2 separate regions of the Homo sapiens genome follow, and region 1 is linked to region 2. The links are contacts of gene promoters, found by promoter capture Hi-C in blood cells and fetal thymus (Javierre and others, 2016). All regions are on one chromosome and are shown on one strand. The core of a region is centred on a gene start or on the middle of the fragment in contact, and the rest is flanking DNA. Distances in the headings are between cores, read along the strand shown.

Evidence for each region. Contacts are between HindIII fragments. The CHiCAGO score rates a contact against its expected background, and 5 or more counts as called.
Region 1: a fragment that was not itself captured here is called in contact with the fragment with the promoter of AADACL3 in region 2 in 1 of 17 cell types (fetal thymus); the score reaches 6.0 in fetal thymus.

The regions. Positions count from the first base shown.
Region 1 is chr1:12,261,396-12,266,977 of GRCh38, forward strand. VPS13D (vacuolar protein sorting 13 homolog D) reads left to right here. Exons shown (of 70, transcript NM_015378.4): 13 at 506-685; 14 at 5,486-5,582. Among named protein-coding and RNA genes, the nearest start is that of VPS13D, 34 kb to the left of the region's middle. The HindIII fragment of the contact is 485 bases long and covers 3,649-4,133 here.
Region 2 is chr1:12,713,737-12,719,091 of GRCh38, forward strand. AADACL3 (arylacetamide deacetylase like 3) reads left to right here and starts at 2,374. Exons shown (of 4, transcript NM_001103170.3): 1 at 2,374-2,608. The coding sequence starts at 2,441. RefSeq lists an enhancer at 1,849-3,048. The HindIII fragment of the contact is 3,124 bases long and covers 1-2,680 here.

The DNA of each region.
Region 1 (5,582 bases), core at 2,641-5,140, 450 kb before region 2:
CAACAATTTTAAACTCTGAAGTTTGAATACCAGTCTAGAGCCTCTCTTAAACCTGCAGTGTCCGATATCTAGCCATAGGCACAAATGGCTAACTAAAATTTAATTCGAATTGAATACAAGTAAAAATTTAGTTTCTTAATTGCACTAGCACATTAGCCACGTGTGCTCCCAGTGCTCAGTAGCCACATGTGGTTAGTGGCCACTGTACTGGATATCGCAGATGCGGACCATTTCACCATGCTGGGCAGCACTGCTTTATACCATCCCTTATCATGAATCTTATCCTCCCTGGTTTGATAATAAGTTGATAAGATCCCTTAAAAAACAATTAGGGTTGTTTTACATTAGGAAATATTATAAAATAGTCACCCATGACTTTGGAGTTCTTTCTTAACAAAGGGAAAAATAGTTAAATAACATCATCATAACTGTGATCAGTCTGCTTGCTGGTGCTTTTTTATTCTTCCACGTTTTTTCTTACAGTCTTTTCTCCCTTACCATTTAGGCACTGAGGAGTTTTTTGACCCCACTGCAGATGCCTCGTGTATGAACACGTATACAAAGCGAGATCATGTCTTTGCCAAACTGAATTTGCAGTTGCAGCGAGGTACAGTGACTCTGTTACACAAGGAGCAAGGAACTCCTCAAATGAATGAAAGTGCTTTCATGCAGCTCGAGTTTTCAGGTACACTGCCCCCAAGAAACTACCTGCCACTGTTGTCTCTCTGTGGGCCAATGTCCAGGCGATTCTCATTATTTGCTGTGGGGATAGTCTAGAAAGTCAGTGCGAAAACTGTATTAGCTAATGTGGAACCATTGCTCTTAGGGGAAATACTGGGTTAGGTTCATGTGAACCTCTGGTCATAACATTCATCAACTGATCAGTACCTAACCTTAATTTTTAAAATGCGTGTCTGTATTTAAAGACATTTAATATAGATATACAGACAGTCCTTGACTTAGGATAGTTTGACTTTGGATTTTTCAACTTTACAAGTGGCACAAGAGTTATACACATTCAGTAGAAGTCATACTTCGGATTTTGAATTTTGATCTTTTCCTGGGCTAGAGATAGGTAGTATGATATTCTCTGAAGATGCTGGGCAGCAACAGTGAGCCACAGCTCCCAGTCAGCCATGCGGTCATGAGGTAAGCAGCTAATAGTCTACAGTGGACTGTGTGGCCAGATGATTTTGCCTACCTTTAGGCTAATGTAAGTATTCTGAGCACTTTTAAGGTGGGCTAGGCCAAGCTGTGATGTCCAGTAGGTTAGGTATATGAAATGCATTTTTGACTTACTGTATTTTCTTTCTTTTTTTTTTTTTTGAGACAGAGTCTTGCTCTGTCGCCTAGGCTGCAGTGCAGTGGCATGATCTTGGCTCACTGCAACCTCTGCCTCTTGGGTTCAAGCGATTTTCCTGCCTCAGCCTCCTGAGTAGCTGTGACTACAGGCGCGCGCCACCATGCCCAGCTAATTTTTGTATTTTTAGTGGAGACAAGGTATCGCTACGTTGGCCAGGCTGGTTTTGAACTCCTGACCTCAAGCAATCTGTCCTCCTCGGGTTCCCAAAGTGCCAGGATTACAGGCCTGAGCCATTGCGCTCAGCTGATTTATGATATTTTCAACTTATGGTGGGTTTATCATAACTCCATCCTAAGTCAAGGAGCATTGTGTTATTGATTTATTAACATTGAACTCATGGCCTATAGCACTATACCTCATGCCTGAATGAAGTTTCTCTAATACTCATATTTTTTTTGTAACGCACATCACAGTCTTCTTGCACTCAGGACCACTAGGCAGCGTTTTAGCACTAGGGGCTTGTTTTAAACAGTGAAACCACAAACAAAAAGCACAGAAGCATGAAAAACATGGCGCCAAATAGAAGACCATGGGAGGGATGCTTGTTCACAGTGTGAGAGCTGAAATGAGGAGGCAGAGCGTTGCCATGTTTGAACTCAGGTGGGAATGTGCATATCAGGTGGCTTGAATTTTTTTCTGCTCTGTGAGTGTCTGAATGACAGAGTGCCATGAGGATTAATTTTGGAGTTACAAATTTTAGCAAGTAAACAAATGTGCAAATATGGAATCTGTGAATAATGAGGATTGACTTGACAGTATTTGCCTTCTTTTTGTGACTTTGAATTAAAGGTGTATAAATAAATATGCAGATGTTTTTGTGACTTTGAATTAAAGGTGTATAAATAAATATGCAGATGTTTGGACATCTCACAAATATTTTTATTTCGGTCCATAAAACAGCAGCTTATTTGAGATTCCTGAGTGGCTGAAGGACAAATGATTTTTTTTAAAAAGCCAGTTTGTTTGACTTCATAATGTAGAAAATTGAGCTGTCATAAACTTAGTATTAACTAGCAGATTACTTGAACTGAATTGAAAAGGCACTATTTAAAATTCCTTCTGCTAGGAAACTTCTAATGGTGTTTGTGTGTTTAGACAGCTGGATAGATACAGGCACACTTGATTTTATTGCACTTTGCCTTATTGCACTTCATAGACACCACATTTTTTACAAATTGACAGTTTAAAAATGAGCAAGTCTATAGGTGCCATTTTTCCAACAGCATGTGCTCACTTTGTGTCTCTGTGTCACATTTTAGTAATTTGCCCAGTATTTCAAACTTTTCCATTATTATTCTGTCTCTTATGGTGATCTGTAATCACCAATTTGTAATGTTATTATTGTATTTGTTTTGGAGTGCTATGAACCATGCCCATAGAAGATGGTAACTTAGTCAATATTGTGTATGTTCCAACTGCTCCACCGACTGGCCATTTCCTTGTCTCTTTTCCTCTCCTGGGGCCTCCCTATTACCTGAGACACAATGTTGAAATTGGGCTAATAACCCTACAATGGCTTCTAAATGTTCAGGTGAAAGGAAGAGTCACATGTCTCTCACTTTAAATCAAAAGCTAAACGTGATTAAGCTTAGTGAGGAAGACGTCGAAAGCTGAGATAGGCCAAAAGCTAGGCCACTTGTGCCAAACAGTTAGCCAAGTTGTGAATGCAAAGGAAAAGTTCTGGAAGGAAATTATTAGTAAAAGTGCTACTTCAGCGAACACATGAATGATCAGAAAGCAAAGCAGCCTTACTGCTGCAATGGAGAAAGTTTGGTCTGGATAGAAGATCAAAGCAGCCACAGCCTTTCCTTAAGCCAAAGCCTAATGCACAGCAAGGCCTTAACTCATTTCAGTTCTGGGATGGCTGGAAGAGGTGAGGAAACTGCAGAAGAAAAGTTTGAAGCTAGCAGAGGCTGGTTCATGAGTTTGAAGGAAAGAAGCCATCTCCATAACATAAAAGTGCAAGGTGAAGCAGCCAGTGCTGATGGGGAAGCTGCAGCAAGTTATCCAGAAGATCCAGCTAAGATCCTTGCTATGCTAAATGATAGATTTTCATTGTAGATGAAAAGGCCTTCTATTGGAAGAAAATGCCATCTAGGACTTTTCATAGCTAGAGAGGAGAAGTCAATGCCTGGCTTCAAAGCTTCAAAGAACAGGCTGACTCTCTTGTTAGGGGCCAGTGCAGCTGGTGACTTTAAGTTGCTGATTTACCTTTCTGAAAATCCCAGGGCCCTTAAGAATTATGCTCAATCTCCTCTGCTTGTGTTCTATCAATGGAGCAACAAAGCTTGGATGATGCCAGTACATCTGTTTACAGCATGGTTTACAGAAGATTTTAAGGCCACTATTGAGACCTACTGCTCAGAAAAAAAGATTCCTTTCAAAATATTACTGCTCGTGGATAATGCATCCAGTCACTCAAGAGCTCTGCTGGGAGAAGTATAAAGAAATTAGTGTTGTTTTCATGCCTGCTAACACAACATCCATTCTGCAGCCCATGGATCCAGGAGTAATTTCAACATTCAAGTTTGTTTGTTTCTTTAATTAATTGCTTAATTTATTCAGAGATGAGCTCTCACTTTTTTGGCCAGGGTGGTCTCAAACTCCTGGCCTCAAACGATCCTCCTGCTTCAGCCCCCAAAGTGCTGGGATTGCAGGTGTGAGTTACCACTCCCAGCCTCAACTTTTATTATTCAAGAAATACATTGCATAGGCTGTAGCTGCCATAAATAGTGATTCCTCTGATGGACCTAGGTAAAGTATATAGAAAAGCTTCGGGAAAAGATTCACCATTCTAGATGCCATGAAGAACATTTGTAATTCGTGGAAGGAGGTCAAAATATCAGCATTAACAGGAGTTTGGAAGAAATCAACCCTCTTGGATGACTTTGAGGGATTCAAGACTTAAGTGGAGGAAGTAACTGCAAATGTGGGGTAAATAGCAAGAGAACTAGAATTAGAAGTGGAACCTGAAGATGTGACTGAATTGCTGGAATCTCATGATCAAACTTGAATGGATAAAGAGTTATTTCTTACAGATGAGCAAAGAAGGTAGTTTCTTGAGATGGAATCTACTCCTGGTGAAGATACTATGAACACTGTTGAAATGACAACCCAAGGCTGGGCGTGGTGGCTCACGCCTGTAATCCCAGCACTTCGGGAGGCCAAGGCAGGAGGATCATTTCAGGCCAGGAGTTCACAACCAGCCTGGGCAACATAGCAAGACCCTATCTCTACTAAAAATTAAAAAAAAAATTAGTTGGTCATGGTGACATGCTCCTGTAGTCCTAGCTACGTGGCAGACTGAGAGGTAGGAGGATCCCTTGAGCCCAGGACTTTGAAGTTACAGTGAGCTATGATTGCACCACTGCACTCCAGCCTGGGTGACAAAGCAAGACCTTGTCTCAAAAAAGAAAACAAAATAAAAAAGGAAATGACAATAAAGTTTTTAGGATACTAAATCAACTTAGTTGCTAATGGCAGGGTTTGAGAGGATTGACTGTGGTTTTGAAAGAAATTCTACTGTGGTTAAATACATGCTTTATCAAACAGCATCACCTGCTACAGAGAAATCTTCTGTGAAAGGAAGAGTCAGTTGATGTAGCAAACTTCGTTGTTGTCTTATTTTAAGAAATCACCACAGTCACCCCAACACTTCAGCAACCACGCCTTGATCAGTCAGCAGGCATCATCATGTAGGCAAGGCCTTCCATCAGCAAAAAGATTACAACTTGCTGAAGATTCACAGGATTGTTAGCACTTTCTAGCAATAAAATATTTTAAAATTAAGGTATCTATATTGTAGTTTCAGGCATAATGCTATTGCACACTCAGTACACTACTGTATAGTGTCAACATCACTTTTCTATGCACTGGGAAACCAAAACATTTGTGTGACTTGCTTTATTGTGATCCTCACTTTATTGCAGTGGTCTGGAACCAAACCCGCAATATCTCCAATATGTGCCTGTAGATAGATAGGGTTTTTTTGTTTGTTTGTTTAATTTCAAGGAAAAATAGTTCATCTATAATAATCTTCTGTAAAATAGAATATCTAATATTTTCAAAAACACATTAGGCTCTCATAAGCATTGTATCAACTATTTTATTTATCTTTTATAGATGTAAAACTTCTAGCAGAGTCTCTTCCTCGAAGAAATTCCTCGTTGCTTTCAGTCCGGTTGGGTGGACTGTTTCTTCGAGACCTGGCTACAGAAGG
Region 2 (5,355 bases), core at 1,124-3,623:
CTCTGAGCCCAAACCTGCATGTATACATCCAGATGGCCTGAAGCAAGTGAAGAATCACAAAAGAAGTGAAAATGGCTGCTTCCTGCCTTAACTGATGACATTCCACCATTGTGATTTGTTCCTGCCCCACCTTAACTGAGCCATTAACCTTGTGAAACCTTCTCCTGGCTCAGAACCTCCCCCACTGAGCACCTTGTGACCCCCGCCCCTGCCCGTAAGAGAAAAACCCCCTTTGACTGTAATTTTCCACTACTCACCCAAATCCTATAAAACAACTCCACCCCATCTCTCTTCGCTGACTCTCTTTTCGGACTCAGACTGCCTGCACCCAGGTGAAATAAACAGCCTTGTTGCTCACACAAAGTCTGTTTGGTGGTCTCTTTACACAGACACGCGTGACACCCAGCACTTTGGGAGGCCAAAGCGGGTGGATCACCTGAGGTCAGGAGTTCGTGACCAGCTTGGCCAACATGGTGAAAACCCATCTCTACTAAAATAACAAAATAAAAAATAACTAAAAATACAAAAAAAATTAGCTGGCATGGTGTCACACACCTGTAGTCCTAGCTATTCGGGAGGCTGAGGCAGGAGAATTGCTTGAACCCGGGAGGCGGAGGTCGCAATGAGCTGAGATTGTGCCATTGCACTCCAGGTTGGGTGACAGAGAGAGACTCAGTCTCTCTCTCTCACACACACACACAAATAAATCAATAAAAATAAAAATTAGATGGGCATGCATGGTGGTGCACACCTGTAGTCCCAGCTACTCCAGAGGCCGAGGTGGGAAGATTACTTGAGCCTGGGAGATGGAGGCTGCAGTGAGCCAAGATTGCACCACTGCACTCCAGCCTGGGTGACAGCATGAGACCCCATCTCAGAAAAAAAAAAAAAGAAAGAAAGAAAGAATGCTTCAGGCTGGCTTCCTGACATCTAATTAAGTCTTCCCACGTGCCAGACTCATACTAGTGCTTGACACAGGCTGGTGTTCTTGAGGCAGCCAACAGTCCTATGGAGTGGGGAGTACTATTATTATCCCCATTTGACAAACTTGGAAACTGAGGCTGATTGCACATAACGTGCTCATGATCAGCATGCTGGCATTTGGCAGAGCCAGGATTCAAATTCAAGTGTTGCAAATGCAGGGTTTCTCAACCACCATACTATCGGCTTGCTGGACTGCATAAGTCTTTGTGCATTGCAGGATGTTTGGCAATATCCCTGGCCTCTTGTCTATGACACTCTAGAACCAGCCCTCTGGCCCTTCCTGAGTGGGGACAACAAAAATGTTTCTGATATTCCCATATCTTCTGGGAGGTAAAATCTCTCCTGTCTGAGAACCACTGCTCTCTCACTCAAGCTGGGAGGCGGGAGACACAGCAGATATTACTATTGTTACTGCAGATGTGGGACTTGGTTGTTAGGGAAGATTTCCAATGGTGACATCAACCTCTGACCTGACCTGGAAAGGCAAGCAAGCACAGTTTCCCAGATTTGCAAGAAAGAGGAAAGCAAGCACAGTTTCCCAGATTTGCAAGAAAGAGGACAAAGCCTGTCTATTCATTCTCTCACTCCATAGGCATTTGCTGAGCACCTACAAAGTACCAAGCCCCAATCCAGCCTCTGGTGATAAAATGGCACAAAAAGAAAATTCCTGTCCTCCCAGACAATAAACAGACAAGTGAGGCAGGTGATGATAAAGGTCACAGGGAAAAACCAAGCAGTGGGGGGGTGAGGAAGGTGGGGGATGGGGAAGATGGGGGATGGGGAAGGTGGAGGATGAGGAAGGTGGGGGATGTGGAAGGTGGGGGGGTGGAAAGGGTGGGGGATGGGGAAGGTGGGGCTGGGGAAGGTGGGCGTAGGCATGCTGGCGGGAGTTAAATTTTAAATAAGATTGCCAGGGATGGCCTCACTGAGAAGGCAACATTTGAGCAGAGACCAGCAAGAGGGGAGGCATGGAGTCTAGCCGAGGTCTAGGGGAAGAATGGTGTACAGAGAATGGCTTGCCGTACAACAGCTCTGGGACATCCTCCACAGGCTGATGGATGGATGATAAGCTGGAGTTGAATCACAGAGTGGGGGGATGAGGTCCGAGGGCCGGTGGGAGGAATCGTGTTTATGATGTCCATTGTGACTTGGTGGCTTATCCAAGACTATTTCTAGTTAGCAGTGCCAGATTGTAAGCTGGGACTCTAGAACTTTCTTTTGTGGCTGGATCCGGCTGGATGGGCCACTTTCTTCTCTGCATGGGCCCTGTCCTAGAACCACATCCTCACCTGAGCCTGTGACTCACCTGGGCTGGGCCAGTGTTTGTGGGACCCAGGGAGGTGGGGGAGGACAGGTGTGACTTATAAGTGGAGGAGGTCTGCTGGCTCTGAACCATGTCCTAAATGGTTTACACTGCGCACAGCTTCCTCTCAGCCCGCTCTGAGCTGGAAGCAGCATGTGGGACCTGGCCCTGATCTTCCTCGCAGCAGCCTGCGTGTTCTCACTAGGGGTCACTCTGTGGGTCATTTGCAGCCATTTTTTCACTGTGCACATCCCTGCAGCGGTTGGCCACCCTGTGAAACTGAGAGTCCTCCATTGCATCTTCCAGCTGCTGTTGACTTGGGTGAGTTTTGTGCTTTATGTGTCCCCTCCAGCTGACCATTAAGGAAGGCGGCAGGAAAAATCACACACCGGAAGCTTCTAGCTGAATGAACACCGGTATCATGGGGCCTGCAGTGACAGCTGATCAGACCTTCTGAAATGTGCATAATCCCTATTAGGTGGTTCTCAGCCTCTTTGGGTGTTTCTGAAGCTGGCCCTGGCTAATATTCACAAAATTCAAAGAATGATCTGCTTTCTCAGTTAACAGAAAGAAAAAACCAGTCTGGTTCTATTCACCTGAGTGTCTCCCGCTGACTTTCTTTTTGTTGTTGTTGGTTTGTTTTATTTTTAAAATTGAGGTAAAATATGCATATAAAATTTACCATCTTTCGCATTTTTAAGTGTACCTTTCACGTGTCCATAAATGTGTCCATATTATTCACAGCACTCACCACTCTCAGAAGTTGTGAAGATATGAATGAATTTTCCTGAGTCTCTGGGCCCCCACTGCTATCTACCTGTTAGCTAGAGCCAGCAAGCCACAAAGTAAAAGGGTAGCGGATGAGTAGATTAGTGCCGGTGAGCAAAATTACAGAATGTGACTTTAAAAATATGTTGTTGCTTTTGAGAGCTAGAAAGCTGCCTAGGGAATATAGTTTGGTTCTGCTTCTGGTGTAATTTGTTAAAATACCTGTAAATGGAACTGTGTAGGTGTTGCCAATACGGATTTCTTGTACTTTTTCTTGTGCCTTGACAGAAACTGAATATACAAAATATTTTTTGTAAGTTTCTTACATAACGAAAAGCAATTGCCAGTGCCTCTTCTCAAGAGACACCCTAGGTGTGTCTTCTATGCTATTCAAAATAATTTCTATGCTATTCAAAAGAATGTAGCTATTACCTAAAAGAGAAGATCCCGGGAACTCTAGGCTTCTGATCTCCAGTCAGCTTTTATAAGATGCAGTGATTGGGTCCTAGGTTTTCCTACCCTTGATGCTCAGATTCTGTAGTCCAGGCTCCCAAATACAGTGACTCGATTTCCTCTTTTGCAAAGTAGGGAAAATTGCTCCTACTTCACAGGGTTTTGTGGAGACTCCATGAATAACCCTCTCCAGAAGGCTTATTATAATGCCTGACACAGAGGGAGCCCTCCTTAAATAGTAGCCATTGTTACTCTTTGTTGATTCTTTTATTTTTTATGCAAAGATGTGTTATGCAACTGCTGTGTGTCCTACGCCAGTCCTGGGCTCTAGGGCCAATGACAGGTGAGAGAGGTAAAGTTCCACAGGTCTGCCTTTAGGGAGCTTGTAGGGTCCAGGCAGTGGGCAGCGGGGAAGTGGTCTATAAAGAAGCTAACCCACAATAGAACAAGCTACAGATAAACAGCTTCCCAAAGCGGAGAATGCAAGGAGGACAGCAAAACCCGTCAGGGGAGCCGAGCAGGGCTTCTCTCCTGGGGCATCTTGAGCCCCCGGGGCCACAGAACACAAGGGGGTCATGGATTTGGATCACAGAACATAAGGGGGTCATGGATTTGGGTCACAGAACACAAGGGGGTCATGGATTTGGATGGGGTCAAAATTACCCCATGTTCACAACTAACTTCCAATTGAAATTCTTCTCATGAGGAATGAAGGCAACAAACCACAGTCCTGAAAGCCAGACCTCGACTTTTCACCAAGAGAAATCAGACATATTTGCATTGCCTATTAGATATTGCGAAAACTCATGTATTCTCCTCATTTCTTTGAAACTAGGGTAGTATCAGGCAGCAGTTAGATCTTATTACTCTATGTGCTAGTAAGGAAGAACCTATATTATTATGACATACATTTTAATATTTTGATAAGTATATTTAAATAACACTGCTTTTCTTTATAATCCCATGTATTTATTTTATGTATTTAAAAATGTTCTGGGCTGGGTGTAGTGGCTTACACCTGTAATCCCAGCACTTTGGGAGGCTGAGGTGGGAGGACTGTTTGAGTCCAGGAGTTTGAGACCAGCCTGGGTGACATAATGAGGCCTCTTCTCTCCAAAAAAAAAAAAAAAAAAAAAAAGTTCTCAAATGAGGCCTGCAGCTTTTCCCAAGGCCAAAATGGCTGTGGCACAGACAAGGATTAGGAAACACTGGAAAGGATACCCAGAGGGAGAGCCCTCTTTATTTACGTATTTTTAACTCTTTTTTTTTGAGCTGGAGTTTTACTCTTGTTGCCCAGGCTGGAGTGCAATGGCATGATCTCGGCTTACTGCAACCTCTGCCTCTAGGGTTCAAGAGATTCTTCTGCCTCAGCCTCTCGAGTAGCCGGGAATACAGGAGCCCACCACCACACCCACCCGGCTAATTTTTGTATTTTCAGTAGAGACTGGGTTTCACCATGTTGGCCAGGCTGGCCTTGAACTCCTGACCTCAAGTGACCCACCAGCCTTGGCCTCCCAAAGTGCTGGGATTACAGGTATCAGCCACTGTGCCTGGCTGTATTTTCAACCCTTTATGCAAACTTTGACATATACCAAAGGGGAACAGGGTGCCCACTCTCCAGTGTCACCATCACTGACTCCTGGCCTGTCTCCCTTCCCTGTGTCCCTAAATGTCTCTAACTTTTCCCTCATTTTCATTTATTTAAGAAGCCAATGGACATCATATTATTTTATCCTAAAAATTTTCAGTAGGCATTTTCAAAAGATATGAACTCCCCCTTCCTGTTTTTAAAAAATGTACCCACACTATAGTTAGCTACACAGGCTTGGGGTGGCCAGATTGGCTGG